5 separate regions of the Homo sapiens genome follow, and regions 1, 2, 3 and 5 are each linked to region 4. The links are contacts of gene promoters, found by promoter capture Hi-C in blood cells and fetal thymus (Javierre and others, 2016). All regions are on one chromosome and are shown on one strand. The core of a region is centred on a gene start or on the middle of the fragment in contact, and the rest is flanking DNA. Distances in the headings are between cores, read along the strand shown.

The links. Contacts are between HindIII fragments. The CHiCAGO score rates a contact against its expected background, and 5 or more counts as called.
Region 1: a fragment that was not itself captured here is called in contact with the fragment with the promoter of CYS1 in region 4 in 9 of 17 cell types (neutrophils, naive CD4 T cells, naive B cells and 6 more); the score reaches 12.6 in neutrophils.
Region 2: a contact is called between a fragment that was not itself captured here and the fragment with the promoter of CYS1 in region 4, in 4 of 17 cell types (total CD8 T cells, naive CD8 T cells, endothelial precursors and 1 more). The highest score is 6.9, in total CD8 T cells.
Region 3: a contact is called between a fragment that was not itself captured here and the fragment with the promoter of CYS1 in region 4, in 1 of 17 cell types (erythroblasts). The highest score is 7.2, in erythroblasts.
Region 5: a fragment that was not itself captured here is called in contact with the fragment with the promoter of CYS1 in region 4 in 2 of 17 cell types (erythroblasts and naive CD8 T cells); the score reaches 5.4 in erythroblasts.

Annotation. Positions count from the first base shown.
Region 1 is chr2:10,450,328-10,453,268 of GRCh38, forward strand. ODC1-DT (ODC1 divergent transcript) reads left to right here. Exons shown (of 5, transcript NR_110597.1): 3 at 1,954-2,142. Among named protein-coding and RNA genes, the nearest start is that of ODC1-DT, 2.1 kb to the left of the region's middle. The HindIII fragment of the contact is 3,130 bases long and covers 1-2,815 here.
Region 2 is chr2:10,515,347-10,518,391 of GRCh38, forward strand. No RefSeq gene overlaps it. Among named protein-coding and RNA genes, the nearest start is that of ODC1-DT, 67 kb to the left of the region's middle. The HindIII fragment of the contact is 1,186 bases long and covers 933-2,118 here.
Region 3 is chr2:9,797,890-9,800,950 of GRCh38, forward strand. No RefSeq gene overlaps it. Among named protein-coding and RNA genes, the nearest start is that of TAF1B, 44 kb to the right of the region's middle. RefSeq lists enhancers at 1,927-2,762, 2,763-3,061 and a silencer at 2,931-3,061. The HindIII fragment of the contact is 2,587 bases long and covers 264-2,850 here.
Region 4 is chr2:10,078,801-10,081,675 of GRCh38, forward strand. CYS1 (cystin 1) reads right to left here and starts at 1,611. Exons shown (of 3, transcript NM_001037160.3): 1 at 1,106-1,611. The coding sequence starts at 1,423. RefSeq lists silencers at 746-1,085, 1,156-1,395, 1,456-1,515, 1,686-1,925. The HindIII fragment of the contact is 11,698 bases long and covers 1-2,875 here.
Region 5 is chr2:10,484,937-10,487,636 of GRCh38, forward strand. No RefSeq gene overlaps it. Among named protein-coding and RNA genes, the nearest start is that of ODC1-DT, 37 kb to the left of the region's middle. RefSeq lists an enhancer at 2,200-2,700. The HindIII fragment of the contact is 1,786 bases long and covers 443-2,228 here.

The sequences.
Region 1 (2,941 bases), core at 1-2,500, 370 kb after region 4:
CTGGAACGTAGAGGCCAGTTCTTGGCTCAGGGAGCCAGGAGGGCTCTGACTGTTGCACATACAAGCCACTCACACTGCTATCGCCCACATACCTTCCTCTCCCGCCAGCCCACCCCAAAGCCCAAACTCCTGCCCGCATGCTGGGAAGGTGAGCCCTTGCCTGGAGAGCCCAGCAGGGGAAATAGAAGGAGGGAAGGAGGCCTGCTCCTTCCCCGGAGCTCTGCTCTGCGGCTGCAGGAAGACCCGCAGAGGCCCTGGGCAGCAGAACTGTGGACAGCAAGGCTGGAGTTGTGAAACCCAACCACTCAGCTGGATTCCAGAAGCTCAGGTGGTGGTGACTAAACCTGGCCTTACTTAAAATGCATGACTTTATTGTCTTTCAATGTATTTTCAGTAAACTTCATCCTCTCCATTACTATTTTCTTTTCTTCGGAAACAAGCAACAGATCTTTGTAAAAAAAATACGTGATGCCACGCACTTAGGAATCACCCTCATGTGGAGATGAGATTTCTTTTTTATTTTTTTTTTCTGAGAGTCTCACTCTGTTGCCCAGGCTGGAGTGCAGTGACGTGATCTCGTCTCACTGCAACCTCTGCCTCCCAGGCTCAAGCGATTCTCATGCCTCGGCCTCCTGAGTAGCTGGGATTACGGGCATGTACCACCGTGCCCAGCTAATTTTTGCATTTTTAGTAGAGATGGGGTTTCGCCATGTTGGCTAGGCTGATCTCAAACTCCTGACCTCAAGTGATCCACCCACCTCGGCCTCCCAAAGTGCTGGGATGACAGGCGTGAGCCACTGTGCCTGGCCAGAGATGAGACTTCTATGTGTGGTGCTAAAAGAGTGAATAAAAACATTAGATACTACACTGGACATGCTTCTAAGAGCTTAGTCATCTCACCTAAGTTCTGGGACCAACTCCCATTTTCTTAGGATTCCTTGGGCCCCCTTACCACCCCCCCGCCGCTCTGCCCCGCTCATTATGAAAGTTTGGACATCACTCTGTCTCTCTGGGTTCCAGACTACCTTTCTGAAAATGGGGTGGTTGGACTGGCTGAAAGCTCAGGTTCTTCTTTCCTTCTAATGTTCTAAGAATCTACTTATTTCACAGAGTTCTGTATAAATCCACTGACCAAGTTTTCTAAACCAAAACCAAAAACATGTCTGATGAAGGAAGTATCTTTTTTCTTCTTTGCTAACTTACATGAAAAGGCTTATAAAGGTATATAGTGATTGCAGACTTAAGCAGTCACCCTTATCATTATTATTATTATTATTTGAGTCAAGAGGCTTGCTCTGTTGCCCAGGCTGGAGTGCAGTGGCGCAATACTGGCTCACTGCAACCTCTGCCTCCCAGTTTCAAGCAATTCTCCTGCCTCAGCCTCCTGAGTAGCTGGGAATCCAGGCGCCCACCACCACATCCAGCTGATTTCTCTATTTTTAGTAGAGATGGGGTTTCACCATGTTGGCCAGGCTGGTCTCAAACTCCTGACCTCAAGTGATCTGCCTGCCTTGGCCTCCCAAAGTGCTGGGATGATAGGCGTGAGCCACCGCGCCTGGCCTCACCCTTATCAAAAAGAAGTAGGTCACATAGAAGACAATAACCAGCAAGCATTTGTGTATCCATTTACTCAGTATTGGAAAGTTTGACATTGAGAGCTTTCTGGAAAATGGGTTTGGGCGCTGCTTACGTGTCCGTGGTTGTACTCTACTTCACCAAACTTCTTCCAGAAGCATAGAAGAGTGGACTGTGGAGTGAGGCTCATGACCTCCAGCCCCATGAGGACTTTGGGAGGTTAGCTTCTGCCCTGGCAAGGGTGCCCTAACTCAGGACACCTGGGTAATGGGGACTAGTCACAGATGCTCTAGTCCCATCTGGATGTTTGGCCAAAAATAGTTTTCCTTAGCTCAGTCACTCACCAGTCCTTTAACCTTGCCCTTTGAATGGTTTTAGGTGTTTCCGAAAAATCCAATCCACCCTCCAAGGTGGAAAGTGTGCCATCTCTGCCCATAATCCAAATGGCGTGCCTGAGGCATAGAAAGCAGCTTTCAGGGAGGCCTTCCTTCCTCTGAGCAATGGTGGCATCATCAGAAAAGTGGAGCTCCTCCAAAAGGATCTGCTGGAAGCAGAGGACGCCCATGTGTAAGTGGAAGTCCCAGGATGTTTGTTTTATAAAGTGTTACATCACGGCCCTACCTTGCCCCAGCCCTGGTGTGGCTCACTGGGAAGCTGCTGGGAAAGGAGCCAAATAGGAACTAGGCCAGGGCCTCCTGGAGCCCAGAAGGGCCCTGGGGGCAGGTCAGTGGGCACACACAGTTGCAGAGAAGAGGGGGCCCTTGTCTGGAGGCTGAGAGTTTGGAAGAGTACTTTTTTTTTTTTTTTTTGAGACACAGTCTTACTCTGTCACCCAGGCTGGAGTGGTGCAGTGGCACAATCTTGGCTCACTGCAGCCTCTGCCTCCTGGGTTCAAGTTATTCTTATGCCTCAGCCTCCTGAGTAGCTGGGACTACAGGCGTGCACCACCACTCCTGGCTAATTTTTTGTATTTTTAGTAGAGACAGGTTTTCGCCATGTTGGCCAGGCTGGTCTCAAATTCCCGACCTCAAATGATCCGCCCGTCTCAGCCTCCCAAAGTGTTGGGATTACAGGTGTGAGCCGCCGCACCCGGCCTGGAGGAGTTCATTTTCATGGGGAAAGTGATGTTTATCATTATTTTGCTTCCCACTTCCTTGTCTTTTTCAGTGGGCAGAAGTCAGAGTCCCATTAAGCCTGTACCGAGTCAGTATTCAGACATGCCATCCGACACGTGGACAGAAGCTTTGCCATCTGCCTACTTGGCTTGTCTGTTTCAAGCCCTTCACTGGTGGCCCTGGGTCCACAGAGTAAAGTCCAAACACCTTAGCCTGGCACCCAGGACCCTCTGAGGCCTGCCCTGCCCACC
Region 2 (3,045 bases), core at 276-2,775, 440 kb after region 4:
TTTTGATATTCAAAAGATGTATAATTTTGAATTTTTCTCAATGAGCCTTTCTGCCAAACAAGATTTTTAGAGTATTTCCTATGAAATCCCAAGCATGTGGCAATTCTAAGGTAGATATGGAGACTAAGTTACAAGGTAGGGTGGGAAAAAACAATGGATTTATGCCAGACTTTTTGAAAAAAATCTCACCTTGGAGGAATGGGTTTTCCATCATTTGTCCATCCCTCCTATGTTATATATAATAAACAGAAGGAGGTTAAAAATGCGCTGGTACCTCCACCATCATTCTGTTTATGGTACCAACAGACCTAGATCAGGCCAGAAGGAGTGGGCCTCACAGAGCCCATTATTGCACTTATACTTGCTTTGCTCATCCCCTGCAAGAGCTCAGAGCTCCATGTTCCAGGATTGGATGAGTAATATCAGCCCCTTGGACACACCATTGGGTCACCCTGCCAGTAAGAGACAGATTTGTGATAGCCACTCAGTTCGAACATTTTTTTCACTTTTATTTTTATTTTTTGTCCTTGGCATTTGTTGAGCTTCTTTAATGTATGGATTGACATCTTTTGGTTCATTCCAAAAAATTATCAGACATTATCTCTTTAAATAATAATTTTGCCCCCATCTCCCTTGCTTCTCCTTCTGGAATACCCCCTAAATGTATTTAGACCTTCTCACTCTATCCTCCTCTTTTTCATGATTTTCATCTTTCTGTTGTTCTGTGCTATCATTTGGATAATTTTTTCTGACCCATCTTCCAGTTCACTAATTCTCTCTTTGCCTATATCTAATTTCCTATTAAATCCACCTATTAAATTTAAAGTTTCAGTTATTATATTTTTCATTTTTATAAGAAAGATCTATTTGATTTTCGAAAAACCTGCCAAATCAGTTTTTTCATAGTTCTCTGTTTCCTGCAAATATCTTTAAGCTTGTATTGTTTTTTCAACATAACAATTGTATAATTTCTTTCCTATTATTTCATTATATGAAATATTTGGGAGTAGTTTAGCTGTTTGTTTTTTCTGCTTATTCATGCTCATGTTGCCTTATTTCCTTGTGTGCTTCCTTATTTTTCACTAAGTGCTGCTTGCTTTCTTTTCTTTTTTCTTTTTTTTGAGATGGAGTCTCACTCTATCACCAGGCTGAAGTGCAGTGGCGCAATCTTGACTCACTGAAACCTCCGCCTCCTGGGTTCAAGCGATTCTCCTGCCTCAGCCTCCCGAGTAGCTGAAACTACGGGCATGCTCCACTACACCCAGCTAATTTTTGTATTTTTAGTAGAGACGGGGGCTTCACCATGTTGGCCAGGATGGTCTCAATCTCTTGACCTCGTGATCCACCCGCCTCGGCCTCCCGAAATGCTAGGATTACAGGCATAAGCCACCATGGCCAGCCTGCTTACTTTCTTGAGATATTACTTGATGATAATTCTTTGAGATCTCGGATGAATGTGACATCTGCCTGAAAGAATTTGCACTTGCATCTGCCATGCACCTAGGGACACTTCCACTCCAAGATCACCTTCATCTGAATTTGTTCCTGGAAAATTTCTGGGCCATTCAGGGGGTGTGAATTTGGGTACCAGTCTGCACAAGGGTCAGTGTTTGGATACAGCTTCACAGAGATGAGCTTTTCTCCCGCTCTCCTCAGTGCCAAGAAACATTTCCTTGTTATTTCTAAAGGGGGGTTTGAGGGAGAGAATGCAAAAATTTACTTCGGGTTCATGCTAATCCTGGGTGTGTAACCCTTTAGAGTTCTAGCATAATGGGCTAAAGATCTTCTGGTTGGTTCTCAGCCTTACATGGATTCTGGGATTGGGATTCTGATTCTCGGCTTGAAATTCTGACAGGTGAATTTTCTTCTAAGCACAGTGATTAATCTATTGGCAGTGCACTAAATCTTGGAAAATTGTGGAAGGAGACAAGTCTCCTTGAAATGAAACATGACATTCTTCTTGCTACATCAGATATGGTTGGTTCTTGCTCAGGTTAAACAACCTGAAGCCATAAAAACTACAAAACCAACTTTCGAGAATTTTAGCGGTTTTAAATGTACAGGATGAATCAGTTAGGAATGCTTTCCACTACAAGTAGTAGCAATGTGACAAATAGAAGCTTATTTTTCTTACATAACAAGAAGTCTAAAGATAGACAGTTGGTGGTATTGGTTCACCTGCTCAGGAATGCCCTAGCGGGCAGGGGAGGGTCAAAGCTCTTTGCATGTTTCTTATCTGGGATTCTAACGCTTCCTCATGCTTATCGCCTCATAGTTACATAATGGCCACCATAATGTTAGGCATTATGTCCATGTTTAAGACAGGAAAAAGAGGAAAGAGCACCAGTCACATCTGTCCCTTTTATAGGGAGGCCAATGGTTCCCCAAAGGCCTCCCAGCAGACCCCTCACAATGTATCTCATTGTCCAAGACTCAGTCACATGCCTGTTGCCGGCTGTGGGAAGGCTTGAGGAACAGGTGGCAAAATGGAATCAGACTGTCACGGTCAGTTCAGACCATTCGCGGTGCTCCCCTTGGACACTGGACACAGTCAGGAGCATGCTGGAAAGGCAGAGGGGAGACTGGCTGTGGAAAGCAACCCAGAGCCATGAGCTTGGAGCTTGCTGTGCCCACTGCCCACTTTCCAGCAAAGCAGCACAAAGTCAACATACAGAAAAAGCCTGCCTTGTTGGGAGCCTCCAGAAAGTGGGCTTCAAAGTGGAAGGACAGGTTTCCTGACAGAACACACACCACACGTGCACACACACACCACACACATATACACCACACACCACACACAGGACACACACATACACCACACACATACTACACACACACCACACACACGACATACACATACACAACACACAACACAGACACACTACACACACACCACACACATATACTACACACACACCACACACACACACCACACACACACGACACACACATACACCACACACACCAGACACACTACACACACACCACACACATATACTACACACACACCACACACGCATACACCACACACACACGACACACACA
Region 3 (3,061 bases), core at 307-2,806, 280 kb before region 4:
CAGACCCTGGCACGGGTGCCGGCACATGTGCTGCCCAGGGCAGGCTCGGTGGACACATCTACAGTTCATTCTCCCACTTTAGTCCATTTGCTTAAGACACCCTTCCCTGGCAATCGGTAAGGTGCACACATACTGCCTGGGGCTCTCATTAAACTGCAGATTCCAGTTCTGTAGGTCTGGGAGGGGCCTATGATTGTGCAGTTCTAACCAGCTCCCAGGTGAGGCCAATGCTGCTGGCTCAGGGACCACACTTTTCACAGTGAAGCTTTAGAGCTCATTATCTTCCAGGAAGACAAATGCAATACAGGTGTTGCCTGTAGCCAATGCTTCAGCAAATGCTATGGATGCTGCGACTCTGAAACTGGCTGCACCTGCCCAGCAGTCCTGTGAGAGAGTCTGTTAATAAGTAGCAAAGTAGACTCCTCACTGAGGAGGGCAGTTCAGGGACTCGGAAGTCAGGGATGCCCAGAAGGTACACAAGGGGGCTGGGAATCCAGGCTGCAACCTCTAGGCCCAGAGGCCTGGGTGCCAGGCTCAACACAGTTGCTGCTCGCCCAGTGACCTCACGTGAGACACCTCCTCTCTCTGGGCCTCTGCACCTACTCTGGGTGGTACTATCTGCCATGAGAGTGAGATGGGAAACTCTTCCAAAGAAAGGAGGGCTGGATGCTGGTGAGTTGGCATTATTGGCAAGAGCAGATATGATCAGCCCTGACCATGGGCCAAACACCATTCTGCCCACTTTCTCTGTATCAGTGTGTTTAACCCTCAGGGCGACCCTCAGAGGTGGGCACTGTTCTTATTACCTTTTCACACAAGAGAAAACTGAAGCCCAGAGGACGCAATTGCTGTTAAGACCCCAGGCAGTCTGGCTCCCAGCCTTCTACTGAACCCTCTTGTCACTCTGCCTCTCCAGCCTGAAGCTCTGGAACCGTAATAGGTTCATGGCCTGACCCGTGCAGGAAGTCAATATGCAAGATGCCGCATTGCAGCAGAGAGAGAGGTCTAATCAATGCAGGGCCACCAAGTGAGGAGATGGGAGGAAACCCCCAATCCATCATCTCCCCAGGGAGTTCGGGGCTCGAATTTTTAAGGGTTTTGAAGTGGGTCAAAGTGTGGAGGTCCTTGATTGGTCGAAGAGTGCAGTCACGGGACAAGGAGATGAAGAAACCTCACTGTCACGCGGATTCCGTTCCTCTGTGGGGGTCTTCGAGCTGGTTGGCATCAGCTGTTCTGATGGAATTCAGGATCTGCTTAAGCAATTCTTAAACAAAATTCCTATGATTCTAAGGTCAGAGATCCTATCAATAGGAACCATGGGGATGTGAACTGTCCGTACCTAGGGCTACGTGACTTTTGGTTACAAGGAAGTGGGTCAAAGTACAGCCTGATGAATGCTTAATTATAGCTATATGACTGTCCGCAGTTCTTGTTAACCCTGTGAGGCTGGCTTCAGCTGGGTCTGCACTAGGTTAAGAAAGGGAGAAGAAGGGTGGGGACCTCAGCCCTTCCTTCCTGCCCAGACCACAGCCTGCAAACCTCCTCGGGTCCCCTCTGGCTCCAGGGCTCTCGCTGCAGACAGATCAGAAAGGACTCTGGGTCTGTCCCACCCCAGCCAGGCAGCCCAGAGCCCTCAGAGCAGGTGCTGCCCAAATGTTCCTGGGCATGGTGGGACCTTCTGCTAGGCAGGCTCTTCCTCATAGATTTGGGGGCTGCTTGTTTTAGGTTTAAAACAACCTGAGCTTCCCCCAGCCAAGTCCCTATCTCATTGTGTTGCCGTGGTCTGTTTGCCTGTCTGTCTTGTCCCCTAAACTTTGCACTCTCAGAAACGGGGCTGTGTTCCCTCCTCCCTAGGTCTCCAGCTCAGTGTCTTGCACACAGTGGGTGGTGAACTGACTTGCTCCTAGTTTCCCCTCTAGAGGTGCTGGGATGCAGTGACAACGCGCTTCCAGATCTTGCCACCAGAGGGCAGGAGCGCACAGCAGCCGAGTGTGAGCAGCGCGGCAGAGAGCAGGTCGGGCTGGGTGGGTCCCTGGACATCCAGCCGGCAGGGCAGGGAAGGGCCAGGCGCAGAGGGTAAATGAGGACAGGGCCTTGGGGGAGTCTCTTCATTTCCCATGCCGATTCCAGAGACTTCTTTTCTCTTCCTTCCCTTCCATTCCCCTGCCATCTCTTTTCCACTCCCTCCCCTTCCATGTTGACCAGGGTCCAATTTTGACTTTGTGTGACTTTGGGCCAGAAACCTCTTCTCTCTAAGTTGTAGTTTCCTCGTCTGTAAAATGGGGAAGTAGTGCTACCCAATTCTGGGCAGTTCCCTATCTTCCCTTCCTCAGGCTTTGGGACCCTCTGTAGGGCCACGCTTCTCGGCTCTTAGTGGGGAGCTCCAGACTGTGACCCAGGCAAAGCCAGGGGCCCTTTGAAGTGAGCTGCCTCCTCTGCCCCCTGCCTGGGAGAGGACACCTGCAGGCCTGGCCCTGTGGGGCCAGGTGGGCTGGCAGAGTGGATGGGCTGGGAGCTGTGGCAGCTGTGCCGGGTACACACAGGACATCAGCTGGGCCTGTTCCACTCAAGCATAGATGAGCAGGCAGGCATGAATGAATGAATGAATGAATGAATGAATGAATGAATGAAGAGTGAATGAATGAGTGAATGAATGGGAGAAATTCAGGCATGGCTTCAGAATACTTGTAGCAAAGGGATTTTCATACCCACTGCCAGTGGAACCTGGAAGCCTCCTAAGCCTCTCGGAGCCCAGCTTGAGTGGAGTCCACTGGGGGCTTGTCCTCTTTTTGAAGCCTCTTGTCCCTTTTGGACTCCTCACTGGCAGAAGCCTAAGAGACCCTTAGTCTAAGCTTTCAGGGGGTGAGAGGAGGAGTCTACTAACTGGGAGGGTTTACCCAACATCATTTATTTATTCCTCATCAAACAAACACAACGTAGCCACCCCCTCCGGGACTGTGCCTGTGTCTGTGCTGTGAACATCCCAAGGGACGGTGCAGCTGGTGGGGGTGGAGGGGCCGGAGTGCTCTGAGGAGCCAGGGAAGGCCTCTCCGAGGAGGGG
Region 4 (2,875 bases), core at 361-2,860:
TGGAAAATGACTTAAAGAGCGAGCAGTCACCATGATGAATAATATCAGCAAATCAGAGGGCACAACATTCACTCTTGCTATTTGCCTCTCATTTTCACCTCCGAGTTTCCAAAGCACTTGAAAATGAACACTAAAATTAACTGCCTCCTTGCTATGTGTGAATTCCTCCCAAATTTCTCAGCTATTTGTCCAGGCAGTGTTATATAACTGCAGGCTGATGTGGTATTAAAGGAATCTTGTTATATAATTCAGCCCTACTCACTGCAGCTCGCTTTTCCTCTTTAAAGACCGTAAGGGAGAGGAGCAGGGAACCAGGGCCAGAGGGAGAGAGCTCTGTGCACTGTCGCCTGGGGCTGTCCCTCTCCCCCACCCTCCCTGGGGCCTTTTCAGGATTCCTTGGTGCGGTAGCCACCCAGGAAGGCATCTTCCTCGGCTCCCAGCGGCTGCTAAGCAAAGCCTCCCGGGCCTCAGGGAGGAGGACGAGGCCCTTGGCATCCTCCCCGAGCCCGGGAGCGGATGTTAAAGATCTTGTTCATTCAGCTCTGCTGGAGCGAAGACGGTTGCCAAACCAGAGTGCTTGTTTTATTGTTTTTTTAGAACAGCAGGACTGTTATTACGAGTATTCAGGGAGAGAGAATAGGAAGCGCAAAAGAGATTCCGCAGCATCCTAAAAATATCAGTAACATGAGAATTGCCTGCCCAGCAAGGCAAGGATCTGGACCGGTGGGCGCGGCAGGGCGCTTCTGAGCCACCGTCTGGCTGCCGTGCCACCACCGCCGGCGCCCCGCTCCAGGGCGGCCCGGGAAGGCCAGGCGGGGCCGCGGGCCCGAGGGGAGCCGGGAGCCCGGCGCGCTCCGCCTAGGGGTGTCCTTCCTCGGCCGCTCCCAGCGCGATCGCCCCCACGCCTGGACACAGACCCGGAGACGGGGCAGAGAGGGAGGAAACCTGGGGGCCCAGGGGCGGGGAGGCCGGGGCAGCGGGGAGCACGCAAGTCGGAGGCTGGAAGGGGGCGCAGCGCGACCGGCGCCCAGGGCTGGGGCGGGGACGCGCGGCCGGTGAGTGGGGTCCCCGCCGTCCCCCGAGGCCCTGCGGCTCCCACACTCACCGCGCTCCCCGCGACCGCGGTGGGTCGGAGCCGGGCTGGGCGGCGCGGGGCGGGCTCCGGGGGGCCCCAGGCCGCCGACTCGGCCAGCAGCTCGTCCAGCAGGCGCAGCGTCTCGTCCCTGCCGTCGGGGGGCGCCACGGGGCTGGGGTCGCGGCCGGGCGCCTCCTCCGCGGCTGCCCCCGGGACCTCGGCCGCCGCCACCGGCACCCGCCGGCGGGTCCCGCCCTCCAGGGCTGCCGCTCCGGGCCCCGCGGGGAGGCTCTCGGGGCTGCGCCGCCGCCTCAGAGTCCGGCTGCTCCGGCTGCTGCCGCTGCCCATGGCGCGCCCGCCGCCTCCCGGACCGCCGAGGGGGCCCCCATGAGGGGGCGCGGCCGGGGGCGGGGACGCTAGGGGGTGCGGCCGGGGCGGGCTGCAGGGGGAGGCGCGGGGCGAGGTCCGGGAAGCGACCGCGGCCAGGGGCTAGGGTTCCCGGGCGGGGGTCGCGGCCGGAGGACGGGGGTGCGAGCCGGAGCCTGGGGAGGGGCGGGCGAGGCAGGGCTGCATAGGCGTCCCGAGGGGGCGCACACCGGCCCTAGGGAGGGGCGGGCCCGAGACCCCGGCGAGGAGCACCGGGTGCGGGCGCGGCCTCCCCTCCCGGGTCTCCCCCTACAGTCCCCCCACTCCCGCCCACGGGTCCCCTCGCTCCCCGCCGTCGGGTCAGCCCTGTCCCGGCCTTCTGGAATTGCTGAACCCTGCGGGGGGCCCGGCTGAGTTTGTTCATTTATGGAAACGCTCCCCAGACGACGCTCGCCGGGCCCGTGGGAGGCCGCGGGAGCTTGGGGGGACTTCCCAAAGCCTGAGCCCCCTAGCGATGCGCGGGGTGGGCGGGGGAAAGACCCTGAGGGCTGCGCGCGCTGCGTTCGCGAGGTCCGGCCGTCAGTGCGCCCCGACCTTTCAGTGTCCGCCAGGCCTGAGACGCCCCGGGAGGGAAGGGGCGATCCTCCGGGCACCAACAGCCCCCTCCGGCCTTCTCCTTCCCTCTGTTGCCCCAGCGGAGACTGGATGTGTGAAGGTTGAGCCTCATCAAAACCTCCAAATAGTCACTACTTTTGGGAAAGAAAAACTTTGAAAATGAAGGAGAAAGGCAAAGCAACCCCCACCTCGCCCTCCCCCCGCCACAGGAAAGAAGCAAAAGGAAATACCTAGGTGGTGGTCATAAGTCTAGCTTTTGGTCTCGGATTTTTTTTTTTTTTCCCTTAACCGCTTTTCTTTTTAAGTGAACTAACCACAACCCAGACTAGAAAACACTCCAAAGCTGCCGAATTCAAACCCAGCGAGCCTTCCTGTTGGTTGGTTCTGTGTTTTACTTAAATGTGATTACTTCCTTCCCTTGCCCACCTCCTGCAACTTTAAATTCCAGCCTTTCCAAGACAGGGCAATTCAAAAGTCCTGGGTTTAACTCACCTATCTTGACTTGACATTAACTTTTATCCTGATTGATTGGATTCCAGAATAATTGTGAAAATGGAATTTCGGCTAAACTTTCCCAACCACAGACTTGAAATTCTACTATTTTATCACTTCAGGAGTAGACATTAAAAAACATATGCCTAAGAAAATGGAATAAAAATGGGACTCAGATTCACATCCATTTATTTTTATTATTAAGAGAGAACAAGAGGCCGGGCGCGGTGGCTCACGCCCGTAATCCCAGCACTTTGGGAAGCCGAGGCAGGTGGATCACGAGGTCAAGAGACCGAGACCATCCTGGCTAACACGGTGAAACACCGT
Region 5 (2,700 bases), core at 86-2,585, 410 kb after region 4:
ACTTTGAATAGAGTGGCTTTCGGGCATGTCTTGATCTGAAAATGCAAATTCCCCCAATGATTCTATTTCAAAAGGTTTTATTTCTTAGGAATTAATTTTCCCCAACAAGCTTTATGATAATTTTATCCAATTCTCTGCCTCTTAAAAAATACTTGGCCAGGTATTAGGGTTTACACTTGTAATCCCAGCACTTTGGGAGGCTGAGGTAAGAGGATTGCTTGAGGCCAGGAGTTTGAGACCAACCCGAGCAACAAAGTGAGAGCCCCATCTCTATAAAATATGTGCATAAAAGAAAAAATATATAATATAATATATATATTAAGTATATAATATATAAATAAAAGAAAAAAGTACTCCATCAGAATTCTATTTGAAGTTGCATTAACTTTATACATTAATTCTAGGAGGGGTACTTTAAGTTAAACATATGCATTCCCATCCAAGCTTTCTCTTCATTCAGTCTGCTTTATGCCATCCAATTAGAGTTTACATAGGACATTATTCTTTCTTGTTACATTTTATTTCTGAACACTTCATAGCTTTGGTTGCTATTGTAAATACACTTTTTTCCATTTTAGTTGCTTATGACTAGAATAGACAGAAGCTGTCAGTATTTGTATAATTTGTCTAATTATCTAGTATCTAGCAATGTCACCAATACTCATTGATAATTTCTAGTTACTTTTACTAATCTCTTGAGTTTTCTAAGTGCATAGTCATATCATCCACAAAAATAGACAAATTTATTTCTTGTTTTCCAAGGTCTCAAAATGGTTTTATAGGCTTTTGATGTTATTGCATTCGCTGGAACCACGACAATATTCAATAATAATAATGGTCATATTATCACCCTTGTACAGTTCCTGATTTAAATGAACTGGTTCTAGAGTTTCACTCTTTAGAAAAATATCCTCTGTTGGTTCTTGGTGAATGCCTTATATTTCCAAATCGTTTCCATAATCTATCATAGAGGTTTTTAAAGAAAAGATGTTACATTTTGTCAAATGTCTTTTAGGCTTAATTGGAGTGTGTGTGTGTGTGTGTGTGTGTGTGTGTGTGTGCGCGCCCACATGCATGTGTGATTTTTCAAAAATTGTTTTCCCTTTGTTTTTGAAGAAGATACTTTTATGCTTGTAAATGTGCACCTGCATATAGTCTGTCACTCATTCTTTCTGATTTTAATTCATGTCTGTGGTTTTTCAAAGACAAAAACTAAGCAAAAGGCTTTTTGCATATGATGGAATAGTGTATTATTGAAAATATTATATATTCAATGACTAGCATCATGGTAAGAGAATCATGAAGTAAGTTAAAGTGAAAAAAACCCCTCAGTATACAAAACCATGTATAGCATCAACCTAGTCTTTAAAACAAGAAATACTCATCTATACATGACAAACCACAGAAAGGAAATACTGTATATAATGTTAATAGAAGTTTGGGTGATTTTTATATTATTACTCATAGTTTTCTGTATTTTCAGAAATTTTCCAATGAACTTGCCGTGCTGTTATAATCAGGAGAAAAAGCACATTTACATTTTGGAATGCCAGTAACAAGAATCTTGAGTCGCTTTTACAGGCACAAAGTGTCCAGGGCTCTCCCAGCACAGCCTGCTTGGAGTTCAGTGGAGGGTTGAGCCTCACAGGCTTTGCACGGCTTGAGGACAGGACCCAGGATTCACCAACATCCCATGGGGCCCGTTATGGGAACCAGCATTACAATATTTTATTTAATCTGAAGTTCCTGTGCTTTCCAGCACCTGCTGCTCCTCCCACCCAGGACAATGCCGCCTAACAATGCTGCTGGAGCCTAGCCAGCACTGGCAGAGCAAAGTCTGAAATGGAGGCTAGGAGACCCACCCAGCCCTGCCTGTGTTCTGTTCATGCTGTGTGACCCTGGGCAAGTCACTTGGCCTCTCTGAGCCTCAAACCCCTTGGTCACAAAATGGGGGGAATCATGCCTGGCCTTCTTCACACATTTGGTTTTGTGGATCAAAATCTAAAAGCAGCCATATAGGTGGGGCTGCTTGAGAAACCACCGAATGTAGTGCAAACCCAGGGGAATTTTCTCACCATGCAGAGGGAGCTCTCTGCTGTCCTCCGAACAATTCGATTGCAAAACAATTCTTATTTAATTGGATTTGTCTGCGTAGGTCAAATAATAATAATTACTGAGAGTGGTAATCGTATCAAGGACAGCTCACCATGCTTCTATTACATAACTCAAGCTTCTCCCTAACGCCCCAATTCAAAAGCCTCTCCCATTTGCCTGTTCGTGACTCAGGATCACCATCAATCCTGTGCTTGCAGAAAGGCCCTCAGCTCCTTCTCCCATGAGGCGAACAAACAGCCGCGATGTTATCCTTGACCTGGTGTTTTCACACCCAACCACAGAGTAAATATGAACAAATTGCTCAACCTTGAAAAGCATCGTCAGTGATCCACATACAGGTATGCCATCAGATTAGGGGCTTTGAAAGGTCAAGGGGAGAATGATGCTGTGGGATTACCTGTTCTTTTAGCTGAAATGCGTTGAAAGCACCTACCTCCACCTGAGGCAGCCCTGGAGGTCCCTGTCTGCCACAACCCCCGATGCCTGGCTTCCCTCTCTGCGCCTGTTCCTGGAGCCAGTTCTTTCCTCCGGCTCCCCAGGGAGAGTTAGCAGGGGGCTCAGGCCCCTCATCTGATTCCGGTTTTC